Linked DNA regions of Homo sapiens: regions 2, 3, 4 and 5 are each linked to region 1. Evidence: promoter capture Hi-C in human tissues and cell types (Jung and others, 2019). All regions are on one chromosome and are shown on one strand. Each heading gives the region's core, a stretch centred on a gene start or on the middle of the fragment in contact. The rest is flanking DNA. Distances are from core to core; before and after follow the strand shown.

The links. Contacts are between HindIII fragments. The study calls those that stand out against the background at their distance.
Region 2: a contact is called between a fragment that was not itself captured here and the fragment with the promoter of ADCK2 in region 1, in 1 of the 25 tissues and cell types used here (hippocampus).
Region 3: a fragment that was not itself captured here is called in contact with the fragment with the promoter of ADCK2 in region 1 in 4 of the 25 tissues and cell types used here (dorsolateral prefrontal cortex, lymphoblastoid cells, mesenchymal stem cells and 1 more).
Region 4: a contact is called between a fragment that was not itself captured here and the fragment with the promoter of ADCK2 in region 1, in 1 of the 25 tissues and cell types used here (dorsolateral prefrontal cortex).
Region 5: a contact is called between a fragment that was not itself captured here and the fragment with the promoter of ADCK2 in region 1, in 1 of the 25 tissues and cell types used here (thymus).

What each region holds. Positions count from the first base shown.
Region 1 is chr7:140,671,626-140,674,333 of GRCh38, reverse strand. ADCK2 (aarF domain containing kinase 2) reads right to left here and starts at 1,389. Exons shown (of 8, transcript NM_052853.4): 1 at 71-1,389. The coding sequence starts at 1,003. RefSeq lists a silencer at 995-1,454. The HindIII fragment of the contact is 30,105 bases long and covers 1-2,708 here.
Region 2 is chr7:141,654,143-141,656,850 of GRCh38, reverse strand. AGK (acylglycerol kinase) reads right to left here. Exons shown (of 16, transcript NM_018238.4): 16 at 1,607-2,708. It overlaps DENND11 (DENN domain containing 11), which reads left to right. Exons shown (of 9, transcript NM_001080392.2): 9 at 1-123. Among named protein-coding and RNA genes, the nearest start is that of DENND11, 47 kb to the left of the region's middle. The HindIII fragment of the contact is 3,669 bases long and covers 1-2,708 here.
Region 3 is chr7:141,535,455-141,538,162 of GRCh38, reverse strand. The region is part of intron 1 of AGK-DT (AGK divergent transcript); the gene reads left to right. Among named protein-coding and RNA genes, the nearest start is that of AGK-DT, 15 kb to the left of the region's middle. The HindIII fragment of the contact is 4,128 bases long and covers 1-2,708 here.
Region 4 is chr7:141,241,658-141,244,365 of GRCh38, reverse strand. The region is part of intron 2 of TMEM178B (transmembrane protein 178B); the gene reads right to left. Among named protein-coding and RNA genes, the nearest start is that of TMEM178B, 170 kb to the right of the region's middle. The HindIII fragment of the contact is 3,481 bases long and covers 1-2,708 here.
Region 5 is chr7:141,218,306-141,221,013 of GRCh38, reverse strand. All of the region lies in intron 2 of TMEM178B (transmembrane protein 178B), which reads right to left. Among named protein-coding and RNA genes, the nearest start is that of TMEM178B, 150 kb to the right of the region's middle. The HindIII fragment of the contact is 6,566 bases long and covers 1-2,708 here.

The sequences.
Region 1 (2,708 bases), core at 140-2,639:
TGCATGGCGGTTGTTTCTGATCTGGGATAGCTCAGTGGGTAGGTGAGCTGTGAGCTCTCACAACACTTACTTTCACTGCCACGGAGATGAGGTTGGTGGCCTCAGGTTGGTGGCCAGGGACCTGAGCCCGAGACACCCCTGCATTTGATCCAACCAGGTCAGCTTTAGGGAGGAGCAGCCTTTCTAGAAACGACTGGTCTGCGAGATTTTCTGGAGGTTTCCGGCCATTTCCAAGGTATCCAAAGAGCTCTCTCAGCCCACCGACTGCCCCAGTATGTGAGAAGGGCGGCAGACAGGAGGCCCTGCCAAGTCTCTGGACGCTGTCAGTCTCCAGGAAGGCAGTGTTGGCGTATGCTTTGTACACCTGGGCCACGCAGCCTGAGCCCACAGGTTCCCGGTTCTCAAAAGAGAGGATGCTCCCCCAGTCATCCCCAAAAGCCTGCCGAAGGAAGCGCTCAGTGTGAGTCCACGGGTGGGGCGTCACTCGGACATGCAGCTTGGAAAATTGGGCACAGAAAGCCTCCGAAAACAGATCGCGCCGGGTGCTGGCCCACTGGCCCAGTTTGATGTAGGTTGGGCCTGAGGTCTCGGTGGCTTTCAGAAGCAGGTGGAGCCAGAGGGTGGAGACGCTGGGAGCCAGGTAGGTGAGGGGGTAGAGGAGTAGGAGGGGGAAGAATTTCACCAACAGAGCGCCGGCGCGAAGCCAGAGGCGGAGATGCAGGAAGACGCCGCCCAGAGGTCCCGCTCGGGGGAGGCTCTCCGCGGGCCCCGCGCCAGCCGCCCCGCTGCAGCGGACCCTTCGCCGACTCAGAACGTCAGGGGCCCCCTCACCCACGTCCCCGCACAGGGAGACGACCTTGGGCAAAGTGCCCAGCAGAAGCCAGCAGAGCCTGGCATCGCGAGGGCACTCGGAGGGCCTCAGGAGGCTGAGTCCCTGTCTGAGCTCGAAGCACCTCAGGTGCGACAGGCAAACCCTGACGGAGACGCGCCAGGGCGCCACCATCCTCCCGAGGCCCGCGGCCCAGGCGGCCCGCCCTCCACTTCAGAGGCGCCCGCTCAGGCGAGGCTGCGGTGAAGCCGAAGCCCGGCCCTGACCCCGCGGACGGAGCTGCCCATCTGGGCCGGATCCGCGCCCCGCTCCCTCCAGCACCTCGCCGGGCCTCAGGCCGGAGGCCCGCGCCCCGCCCGACACCCGCCGCGCCGCGCCGCGCCGCGCGGAAGGGGCTGTCAGACGGCACCAACTGCGGAACGGGAGGAGCCAGGACCCACGCGAAGCCAGGCCCCGGGCGCCCGCGACCTGAGCGAGGGGGCCGCGCGGGCGGAGGCAGGGGCCGGGCAGCCGCAGGGTCACCGTGCGCCCAGGGGCCAGTATGAGATCGCTGGGGTGGCGGGCACCAGCCCAGGGCGCGGGCGCAGGCGGGGGCCGGGAGGGCGGGGCGGAGCGTGGAGGGCGGGCGGAGCGTCGGGGGCGGAGCGTCGGGGGCGGGCGGGAGTGCAGGTGCAGGGAACCGAGGCACCGAGGGCTGTGGTGGAGCGGAGGGGCGCGGGAGATGGATGGGACGGGTTCGGCCACTAGGTTGAAACCGCCATTGCAAAATTATAACAGATAATGAAAGAGATCTGACCTAACCAACTCCATCTTGCTTCTAACCTCCAAGCTGTCCTTGTTCATTCCTGGGCGTTGGCTGAACTAACTTTGGGAGGAACTTAGTTTATACTTTATAGTTTAAAACAAAGATGATAACAGCCCTTTCTGAAAACAAACCTCCTTCTTGCCTGGGGAATAGACTGTCTTTGTAGGACTAACAAATTAACCAAAAGATTAGAAAGTATGATTTAGGAGTCAGGCAGCAAGGCTACAGTATTCTGACCCTCCCTAAACTGCTAATAAGATCAGTGCTCAAGATATTTTGCAGACCCTGCACTTGATGGATCAACTGACACCTACCAGATCGATAAACCAGGTCATCTGATCTTAGGCCCCCACTCCGGAACTAACTCAGCACAAGAGGACAGCTTCAGTTCCCTAAGATTTCACCTCCGACCCAACCAATCAGCACTCTCGACTCACTGGCCTTCCCCCACCCACCAAGTTGTCCTTAAAAACTCTGCCCAGTGTCCCGCGCAGCCTGATCTGTGTGAATTACTCCTTCTCTATTGCAATGCCCCTGTCTTGATAAATCGGCTCTGTCTAGGCAGCAGGCAAGGTGAACCCGCTGGGCTGTTACAGGGTGGCCGGTGGGGGCAGAGGGCTGGGTGCTGGGCGGTGAGGGTCGGAGGGAGCAGAGGGTCGGTGGCAGAGGCCCGGGCAGCCAGGGTCCCTTGACCCGCCCCTTAAAGAGGACGGCGACCCCAGGCCAAGACCACCCTGCCCTTGAGTCCTGGGTCCTGGGTAGCAAAACGCAAAGGCACCCTCTATGTCCCCCTCCCCATGTCTATCTTCCCACTGACTTCTTCGTATCTTTCATTATTCCAAAGAGCATGGCTGAAAAGTATGAAGGCAGGTTCTGAACACAGGTCCGCTTTTCAGCGGGGGTTGGGTAGGGGGGTGGTGTTGGATGGGGGTAACTGGGCTGCAGGAGTAGGAACTGGATGCTGTGTCCTCGGCTGCATTAATTCGGCAATTGTGTTGGACCTTGGGGAAAGGCTCCGGAAAGGCCATATTCATTCATTCAATAATACTCACTGAGCCCAATAAATATTTCTTG
Region 2 (2,708 bases), core at 80-2,579, 980 kb before region 1:
TACAAATAACATCTATGAATATCATATCTGTATATATCTGAACCAAGTTGTGTGCAGAGAGGTTGATATAACTATATTTACAGAAAATGATTTTTACAATTAAAGTTCACATTTTAACATGAACGTGCGTGCTGCAATCCCTTCTCCAGTCCGAGAAATGTGGTTTGTGGTAGGAAGGAATGGTGGCCTACTCCATGAGCAGAGCCTGTGGGGGCTGAACCTGACTTCACTTACAGTGATGATGGAGGAGATTGGGGAGCTGCTACCTGTCCTTCTAGAAGCCACGGTCTGGACAAACTTTCTCCAGGTAATGGGAAACAAAGTTGGGAATAACTGCGCCACCCAGAAGAGCCAGGGCTGTGTACCCTTAATTACATCAGGAAACTTCTAGAATCCCACAGAGACCACCACCCTTTTACTTTACAAACTCTCTTATCAAAGTTCAGTTTAAAACTTTATGTACTTGATATATATTTGGTATATGTGTATATTCTAAACTTTTATTTCATTTTTAACCTCTTGGGGAGTTACAGTATGTATTTAGAACCGGTATAGAGTACATTGCTATCGGTGGCTCTGTAAATCAAATGGCCTGGATTCAAAGTCAGGTTCCTATTTTCTGTGCTATGTAACCATATATTATTACAGGCTGAGTATCCCTTATTCGAAATGCTTGGGACTTAGAAGTATTTTCAGATTTCAGATGTTTTAGGATTTTAGAATCTTTGCATTATAAATCCAAAATCCAAAATGTTCCACTGGGCACTTCCTTTAAGGATCATGGTGGCACTCAAAAACTTTCGGATTTTGGAGCATTTCAGATTTCGCCTTTTCAGATTAGGGATGCTCAACCTGTAGCTACTTCCTAGGGTTGTTGTGAGAACTGATGCATCAGTTACATATGTGAAGCACTGGCACTTAGGAAATATAACTGCATCCAGATATGTGCAAAACAGCTGTGAGGGAAAGGAAAAAAGCTTTATTTAAAACCCTATCTTAATAGAAAGCAACTACGGTTTTTTTTTTTTTTTTTTTTTTTTGAGACGGAGTCTTGCTCTGTCACCCAGGCTGGAGTGCAGAGTGGTGCGATCCCGGCTCACTGCAACCTCTGCCTCCCGGGTTCAAGCGATTCTCCTGCCTCAGCCTCCAGAGTAGCTGGGACTACAGGCACATGCCACCATGCCCAGCTAATTTTTGTATTTTTAGTAGAGATGGGATTTCACCACGTTGGCCAGGCTGGTCTCGAGCTCCTGACCTCAGGTGATCCACCTTCCTTGGCCTCCCAAAGTGCTGGGATTAATCTTTGCATTTGAGTGAAATTAATCTGTCAAAAAGTTTGTACTAAACAATCACCTGGGAAGGGTGGCCGACTTCCCAATGCAGATTCCTGGGCCCCATCCCCAAATTGGGTTATTAGGATCTCCTCCAGATAGCTCAGCATTCCAGCTTTGGCTGACAAGCCTCACTCAGCTGACTCTCTTTTAGTTGCACTATTAAACGTCTTCCATGCAGGCTTTATAGGGAAGGACAAGGCAAAGAACAAAGCAGTCAACAATAAGGAAACCAAGCCCTCACAGGAAAGAAAGCCTGAATCAAGAAAACAAAGTTTGAAACAAGGCATATTTATATTTAAAAATGAATAAGATTCTAAAGTGGCTTCCATATCCTTCCCTAATTATATGTACCATTATGATTAGAACCACAAAATGAGCACACATAAACACACACTGGTAGCCTATCAGAAAAGAAAGCCAGATTCTGCACTGGTCCTTGATATTGTTACAGAACCACGATATGCTAAATGCTCTCAGCTCAGGTGAAAACTTTTGTTTTCATATACTACAGCATCCTTCCTCCCTACCTGTGGGTGGTATGGGATGAGTGATCTTTATGCTGATGTTTGGAACCGTCTGTTATGTTTTTGCCAAAAGCAGAAATTTTACCACCCTGAAGAATACAGTATGAAATAAGAAAGCCTTCCTTTTTGTGATCTTCATTCATGGACTTTTCATAGCTGTTCTGTAATCTACTAAAGCATTGGTCTCTCTCCATGGGATGTGTGGGCATGGTGTATGTATCTTAAAAGGGATCTGCCTGAGAGAGAGCCTGTAGCTAAGGCCTGCCAGCTCTGCTTCCTCCCCTTCCCCCTCGCAATCCTCCCTCATTGATCTATCTTCCTGTGGTGCACTGCCCCCTAGAGTGTAAGAACCTCAGGGCCACTGAACAAAGGAAAATGTCAGCGATAGTAAAAGTAAATGGTGCTAATGACTGGCTGGCAAAGCCATGGTAAATCAGGTGGATTTCAGTTCTCTGCTTTCAACAGACTAAAGGAGAATCTAATCAAGTTGTTTGTTAGTTGATAGATCATCATTAATAATTCTTGATGATAGAGCACTGTGATCTTTGTCAAAATGCCAAAGGAATCCAAAGAACTGTAAAAACATTGTTAACGTAATTCTATTCCATCGAATTTATGTGCTTACATCTATACAGAAACAAGGAATACAGCTGAGGTTGAACCCCATCTCAGCTGTAAATCACATTCATGTATTCTTGGATAAATGAACTAATTAGGATAAAGAACATTCTAATAAAAAAACTTTTAATCATCCAAGAATTAATACCGTTTTCATTATATACCAATAATTAATTACGATAATATTGGTTCTGGACTGAGATAACAAACAAACACTTAAAGCAAGAGCTAA
Region 3 (2,708 bases), core at 55-2,554, 860 kb before region 1:
TGATGGCTGGGTTTTATGTAAGTGTGTTTAATTTCTTAAGACACTGTCAAACTAGTTTCCAAACTGGTTGCACTCCTTTACATTCCTGGAAGCAGGATATGAGACTTCCAATGGCTCCACATCCTCACCAGCACTTGGTATGTTAGTTTTAAAACTGAAGACATCCTAATATATCTAATCATCTGTGGAAGATATTGACAAAGCATCTGTTGAAATGTTTTGCCCATTTAAAAAATTCTTCTTATTGAATTGTTAAAGTTCTTTATATATTTTAGATACAAATCCCTTTCAGATATATTTTGCAAATATTTTCTTCCAGTCTATGTTGTGCTTTATTTTTATAACAGTGCTTTTTGAAAAGCAAAAGCTTTACATTTGGTGAAGTACAATTTATTGATTTTTTTTCTTTTATAGTTCATATTTGTAGGGCCCATTTAAGAGTTTTTTGCTTAATGCAATATCATTCCGATTTCTCCGATTTTTTTTTTCTTGCAGAAGTTTTATAATTTTTATTTTTATTTTTTGGTTAGGTCTATTACCTATTTTAAGTTAATATTTGTGAACTGTGTGAGGTAGGGGTTGAGGTTCTTTTTCCCATATGCCTCTCTTCAGTTGTTCCAATGTTATTTCTTTTCTTTTCTTTTCTTTTCTTTCTTTTCTTCCTTTTTTTTTTTTTTTTTCTTTTTGAAATGGAGTTTCTCTCTTGTCGCCCAGGCTAGAGTGCAATGGTGCGATCTCGGCTCACTGCTATCTCTGCCTCCAGTATTCAAGCGATTCTCCTGCCTCAGCCTCCTGAGTAACTGGGATTACAGGCACATGCCACCATGCCCAGCTAATTTTGTATTTTTAGTAGAGATGGGGTTTCACTATGTTGGCCAGGCTGGTCTCAAACTCCCGACCTCAGGTGGTCCACCCGCCTTGTCCTCCCAAAGTGCTGGGATTACAGGCATGAGCCATGGTGCCTGGCCCAACATTATTTCTTAAAATGCCATCCTTTCTTCCACTGACTTACCTTGGCAAATCATTGAACCATGTATGTATGGAGTTTTTCTGGATTCTTTACTCTGTTTTATTGATCTGTATGTCCATCTTTATGCCAATACCATGCTATCGTGATTAATAAGGCTCTTTAGTAAGTCTTGAAATTGGCTAGTTTAAGTCCTCAATTTTGTTCTCTTTTCTCAAAATATTTTGGCTATTCTAAGTCCTTCGAATTTCTATACAGAGTTTAGAATCATCTTGTCAATTTATTTTTTGTCTACAAAAAATAAAACTGTGCTTGTGATCCAGATTATGTTGAATTTATAGACCAATTTAAGATTTAATCATTTTATAAAATTGAGTCTTCCGATTTATAAATATGGTATTTATCTCCATTTATTTGGGTATTATTTCATTTTTCTTAGTAATGTTTCTTAAGTTTAAGTGTACATGTCTTGCACCATATTTTGTTAAATATATTTCAGTGTTTTCCACTGTTTAGTACTGTTATACATGGTATTGTTTAAATTTCCATTTCCAATTGTTGATTACTAGAATATAGATATACATTTTTTTTTTTTTGAGATGGAGTTTCACTAATGGCGCAATCTCGGCTCACTGCAACCTCCACCTCCTGGGTTCAAGCGATTCTCCTGCCTCAGCCTCCCGAGTAGCTGGGATTACCGGCGCCTACCACTATGCCCAGCTAATTTTTTGTAAATTTAGTAGAGACAGGGTTTCACCATGTTGGCCAGGCTGGTCTCGAACTCCTGACTTCAGGTGATCCACCCACTTTGGCCTCCCAGAGTGCTGGGATTATAGGCATGAGCCACTTTGACCGGCCTAGATTACTTTTTTTTTTTTTTTTGAGACAGTTTCACTCTTGTTGCCCAGGCTGCAGTGCAATTGCACGATCTCGGCTCACAGCAACCTCCACCTCCTGGGTTCAAGTGATTCTCCTGCCTTAGCCTCCCGAGTAGCTGGGATTACAGGCATGCACCACCACGCCCGGCTAATTTTGTATTTTTAGTAGAGACAGGATTTCTCCATGTTGGTCAGGCTTGTCTCGAACTCCCGACCTCAGGTGATCTGCCCACCTCAGCCTCCCAAAGTGCTGGGATTATAGGCATGAGCTATGGCTCCCAGCCTAGATATACTTTTTTTTTTTTTTTTACATTCATGTAAAAAATGGATACTGTAACTTTACTAAATACACTTCCTTGGTATAGTACATTTTGTAGTTGTTAGGATTTTCCATGTATGCAATCATGTCATATGCAAATAAGGGCAGTTTTACTTTTTGCTTTTCAATCTCAATATTTTTTATCTCTTTATTTCTTTATATTATCAATTAGTATTTAAGGGGACTATTGCATAGAATTGGTGAGAGTAGATATTCTTGTCTAGTTCCTGATTTGGGGAGAAAAGCATTCTGAATCTCACCGTTAAGAGTTATCTTAGCTATATATTTTTCATAGGTGCTCTTCATCAGGTTAAGGAAGTTTCTTGCATTTCTAGTTTTCTGGGAGTTTTTATCATGAATCGTTGCTGTATTTTTTTGGCATCTATCTGTCTGCTCCTATGCTAGATTTAGGACTGGGATGAGAGTCCCAGTATAAATAGCACTGAATCCACTGGCAGAGGCTATGTGACACAGGAAAATGGAACAGACAAGCTTGGGGTTACAGACTCAGACAGTCATTGACGCTCTTTCTCCCAAACCTCCC
Region 4 (2,708 bases), core at 142-2,641, 570 kb before region 1:
CTAAGTCATCTCTCCCTTCTCTGAATGTCTGATGCATTTATTTGCCATAGTATCATTTGGGTACTTAATACAACACTGCTTTGCACAGTTACCTGTTTCGTGAGTTACGTTTTACACCGTCAGTTATGTTACATAGACATACTTCCAAGCTCTGGATGAAAGGAACTGTATGGATTTTTTTAAAGGACCTGTCTACCCTGGCACATAAGTAAATGAGCTGAGCTTTATGCAATGCTTATCTCAGGACCTGGTGCAAAATAACAGCCTAAAAATATAGGTTTGAAAAAATCGTGAGAAACATTTGGTAAACTGAATAAGACTGAACTGCACAAAACGCTCCCCCAAAATGTCCGCAGCCCCGGTTTTGCCTCTTCTACCAGCTCTAGTGGAAGGCTATGAATACTGGACCGTCATGAGGGCAGGCATTGTGGAGGACACAGGTACACAGGGGTATTCAGTGGTGGATACATGTTTGGGTCTTGACAGGTCAAGCAAAAATGGTCCACACGGACTTGAATTATTCCAGGAGTGAAATGGAACATGAAAATACACTCGCCACTATTACTTTCCTTCCCCTCATAACTTTTAATAATACAAATGTTTGGCTTCACCTCTTCTCAGCCCTGTCACTGGCTGCATGGCTGGCAATGAGAACGAGAATGTTCTGCAAAATAGATCTGGGCCCATGGGCCAGTACAGTAGGGGAACCACAAAGAGTGCAGCTGGATTTGAGAAGGAGGAAGGAAGCCGAGGCCCAGCGAGGAGAGTGACCTGGTAACGGTCACACTTCTACTGGCCCAAATTAACCTGAGGTTCCTGCCTCACTCCCCTCTGCTCCCCTTCCTCCAGTCTCCGTTTGAGGACACCACCAGCCCCTGCTGACGTTTCCCTCAGCTTCATCAGCATCTCACATCCTTGGTTAAGAGGCTTCTTCCTACTTCTGATGGCTGCCATAACCCCATAGAGCAGAGCTGACCGCGCTCCACCCCTTACAAAGACAGAAGTGCTGAGAGACTTCAGTGTCATTTTTAATCTCCAAGCAGAAGTTAACGGTTGGAGTCAAAAACAAAAGAACAAAAATCCACAAGTGACCATCCCAGAGGCCCTCTCTGCAAAACCACACACAGAGTCCCAGGCTGACCTCGCATGGACTCCGAGAAAGAGACAATTCTCCCCTTCATTAGTCAATGACCCGAAAAAAAGGCAATCAAGCCAGGGTCACATGACTTTGGTTGTTTGGGGTTTGTTTAAGTTTTACTTTATTTAACGTGAATGAAAAATCTAAACTGTCTCTCTTATTTTATTCCTGGGGATTTAAAGCTAGCCAACACACAAAAGAACATTTAAAAAATAGACTTTGTGCCTAGTTCAAGAAGAAAATCAGATGCAAAAGGAGGAGAAAGAGGAAGAAAAAAAGGTAGATGGAGGGAAAAGTGGAAAACAATGACATAAAGACAGGAGACAGGAGTGAATGCAACTCAAAGGCAGAGAGACAGCAGCTGGAATCTCAGATAAAGAATCGGGGCCTGGCACGGTGGCTCATGCCTGTAACCCCCGCACTCTGGGAGGCAGAGGTGAGCAAATCACTTGCGGTTAGGAGTTTGAGACCAGCCTGGCCAATGTGGTGAAACTCTGTCTCTACTGAAAATATACAAAAATTAGCCTGGCATGGTGACAAGCACCTGTAATCCCAGCTGCCCGGGAGCTGAGGCAGGAGAATCACTTGAACCTGGGAGGCAGAGGCTGCAGTGAGCCAGGATCATGCCACTGCACTCCACCCTGGGCAACAGAGTGAGATTCCGTCTCAAAAAAAAAAAAAAAAAAGGAAAAGAATCGGGAAGGTAGGTAATGGAGAAACACACACACACACACACACACACACACACACTCACACAAAGTGTGAAAATAGCCACAGAGCGAATACCATGAGGAAATCACTATGCAGTTCTGCTCTGTTTATATTGTTTGTTTCAATTCAACAGTACTTTAAAAGATTCTAAAATAGCCGGGCATGTGGCTATTGATTAGCTGAAATGTGGCTACTGGGATTGAGAAAGTAAATTTCGACTTTGATGTAATTTTAATCAAACTTCCACTTAAATTTTAAAATGAAGGCAATATAAAGCCTGTTGCCACTAAACACAACTTTGTTTGGTAGGACTACTTTTCACTCTGCTTCAAAGTCAATCTGCTTCAAAGTTAATCTTATTTCAAAAAGATAAACCAGTTCTATTAATAGGAGCATGAATATTAGAGCTGATTTTTTGGGACTCAATTCAGTTATTAAAAAGCTTTTAAATATGTCTGGAATAACTTGGATATGTGCATTCACATTTTCAATTGTCAGTTTTATGGACTCTATAAAACTATAGATCAAGTATTTCTGATGAAAATGTAGCACCCAAATTCAGATGTGTTTTAAGTACACCAGATTTTGAAAACTTAGTGCAAAAAAAAAGATCTCTCGATAAATTTTACATTGATTATTCATTGAAACAAGAATAATATTTTGGATATATAGGGCCAAGTAAAATACACTATTAAATTTAAGTCAACCCATTCCTTTTTACTTTTTCTAATGTGGCTACTGGAAAATCTAAAATTAGGTATGTAGTTCATGTGTTTCAACTAGCCAGGCCTATTCTGAAGGAAGCAAAGCGAAGCTCCTTTAAAGAGGTCTGACAGAAACCAACGCCACCACGTGCCCT
Region 5 (2,708 bases), core at 154-2,653, 550 kb before region 1:
CTCTAGGTAGTCTTAAATGTTTAAACATTAAGCAACAAGTAATTTGAGCCCTTACCTGGTTGGCACCTGGAAATATATCATCCAATTTGGGAAGCAGAATACCTTTTAATATCCCCTCCAGCACCCAACATGGGGGTTCTCACAGAACAGACACTCCACAACCATTGAATGAACAAATGAACAAATGGATGAAGGCGGACAGTGGGGTTGTTCTCCCAGTTCTCCTTCATGGTGTGGTGTCCGTATCAGTGCGCTCAGCCAGAAGAAAACCACTTCCAATCTGCAGAAGCTGAGAGAATGCCTCCAGGCCAGACTTCCAACTAATTCCCAGCACAAAATTGGACCTGTGCGTTCACATGAATTGTGGCTTGAAGACTGTAATTATACCAGCACAGTGGTTCTTAGGTTTTGTTCAGGACGTGGATGTTTTTAACAGAAAAGGCTGTACTGTACTCCCTCCCACCCCTACTCCAGGCCTCCTCCCTTCCCTCCCCCTAGGTCATCTCAAAAATAAACTCTCCCTCTTATCCATGTAGAGGGCGCCCTTGTATAGGCAGCCATGCTACAGCGCATTTTAATCACTGACCCCCAGCCAGGCCAGCTATCTAAGTAGGTGGGACCCACAGCTGTACATGCACATGCATTTATTATTTTATTATTATTATTATTATTATTATTATTATTATTATTATTATTATTATTTGAGATGGAGTTTCACTGTCACCCAGGCTGAAGTAAAGCAGCACGAGCTCCACTCACTGCAAACTCCACCTCCCAGGTTCAAGCAATTCTCCTGCCTCTGCCTCAGCCTCCCAAGTATGGCATATGTCACCACGCCCAGCTAATTTTTGTATTTTTAGTAAAGACGAGTTTCACTATGTTAGCCAGACTGGTCTCGAACCCTGATCTCAAGTGATCCAGCTGTCTCGGCCTCCCAAAGTGTTGGGATTTCAGGCACGAGACACCATGCCTGGCCCAACATTCATAATTTTAAAGCGTCTCTACGTTACCTATAATTCCCTTGCCATCATTCCTTGGGGCAGGCCTCCTGAAAAATAAAAATGCTATCCAGGGAAGGTAATCCAAGAACACATTAACCCCCTAACTCAAGCATGTTCATCAAATCAGTAAGCCTGTTCTCCAACAGAAACCTGAGGGAATGGGACAAATAAGAGGTCAGTTTTGACAGGCAGGAAAGCTGAGAGGGAAAGGAAGTGTCCTGGCATGAGTTACTTCTGCAAGAACAGATCTTGGTGCAATATCACATTAAGGGGTTTGTGTTCTCTGCCTGGCCTGGTGCATAAATACCACCAGAGCTCTGGGAGGACAGGCACAAGGCAGTGGGTATACTGAAAGGTTTACAAGATTCTCTGCAGGGGCCGGGTTGGGGCAGAGACACAAGGAATGGTTTGCAAAAAGCAAAGACTTCAGGACTCAAGGCAACCTATGATGACACGCTGTTGGCTGAGTCTTCTTGCTACCAAGTTTTTCTAGTTCTGGGGCAAGGAGGTGGTTTCTTGCTAGTGATGACCCCTGTGGATCCCAGTCTTGCAAGCAAGAGGCAGCTAACAACAGATCGCAAACAGTAAGAGCCTCATACTGGCTGAGCACCGATGCGAATGTGGGAGAAGGAAAATGGCTGATGCTGCAGGGGACCTGAGCTTCTAATGTCTGGGATGTTTACCTCATTAGGCTGTTTTCCATAACATCAGCCAAAAACATGAAGAAAAAAATAGCTGGAGGGACCCTACTGGAGCTCAGGCCTGGATTCTGAGCCCTCACCCTCGGATTCCTCTGAGGTCTGAGATGGGACCTCTAGGCAGCCCCTCCCACTGGCTCGGTTACCTCATCTGCAAAGGAGCCACAACAACACGGGAGGGACTCCTGGGAGGAAACGTCGAGTGATCCTCTGAGCAGCATTACAGCTGACTGAACAAAAAGAGGTGCTTACTGTTGTTATTACTGTTAGTTTCATCCCAAGCCCTTTGGTCCACAGCATTCATCTTCTCATAACAAGGATGGCTGGGGGAGGACGGACCAGGTGTCTAGGCAGCTCCCAGGCTGAGAAAGCCAGAGAGTTCTGAGTGGGAAGAAAGTTCAGAAGGTGGCCATTCTACATTGGAGCAGGCTGGGCTAGAACTGGCCAGCTGAGTCCACTGGGAAAGGGAAGGCAGGTACCATCAGGGAAAGAGCCAACACAAGTTCAGGGTGAGAAGGTTGATGCCAGTGGGGAGGGGAGGACCCAGGGTGGCTGGAGAGAGTCTAGACAGCACCAGGGACCCTGGGGTTCAAGGGCAGGACCCTCTAATTCTGGAAAGGGAGAGGGTGAGGAAGAGGGCACCGGAGAGTCCAGGTGTGGGGGGCCGGGTTGGGCTTAGCCAAGAAACATAAGTTAAGAGTCCTGCCCCAAGATCCACACCAGAGCACCAGGACACGCTGGGCTTCCCACCATACACCAGCCTGGGGTCAGGACTGGTCCCTTAAGACTGAGCCAACCCACAGGCAGTGGTGAGAGATCAAGAGCTGTGGGGACAGGGAGCCAAGTGTGTCATCCACATGTCTGCAGTAAGTGAGACAGTTCTGGATTTTTACTTCTTGTCCCTCCTAGTGGTATGGACACTAAAATGTCCCTGCTCATCCACAAAGTCTTGGTCTCCTGCCTCCCTTCCTCCATCCCCACTGCTCCCTCCCTCCTCTTCTCCTCTCTT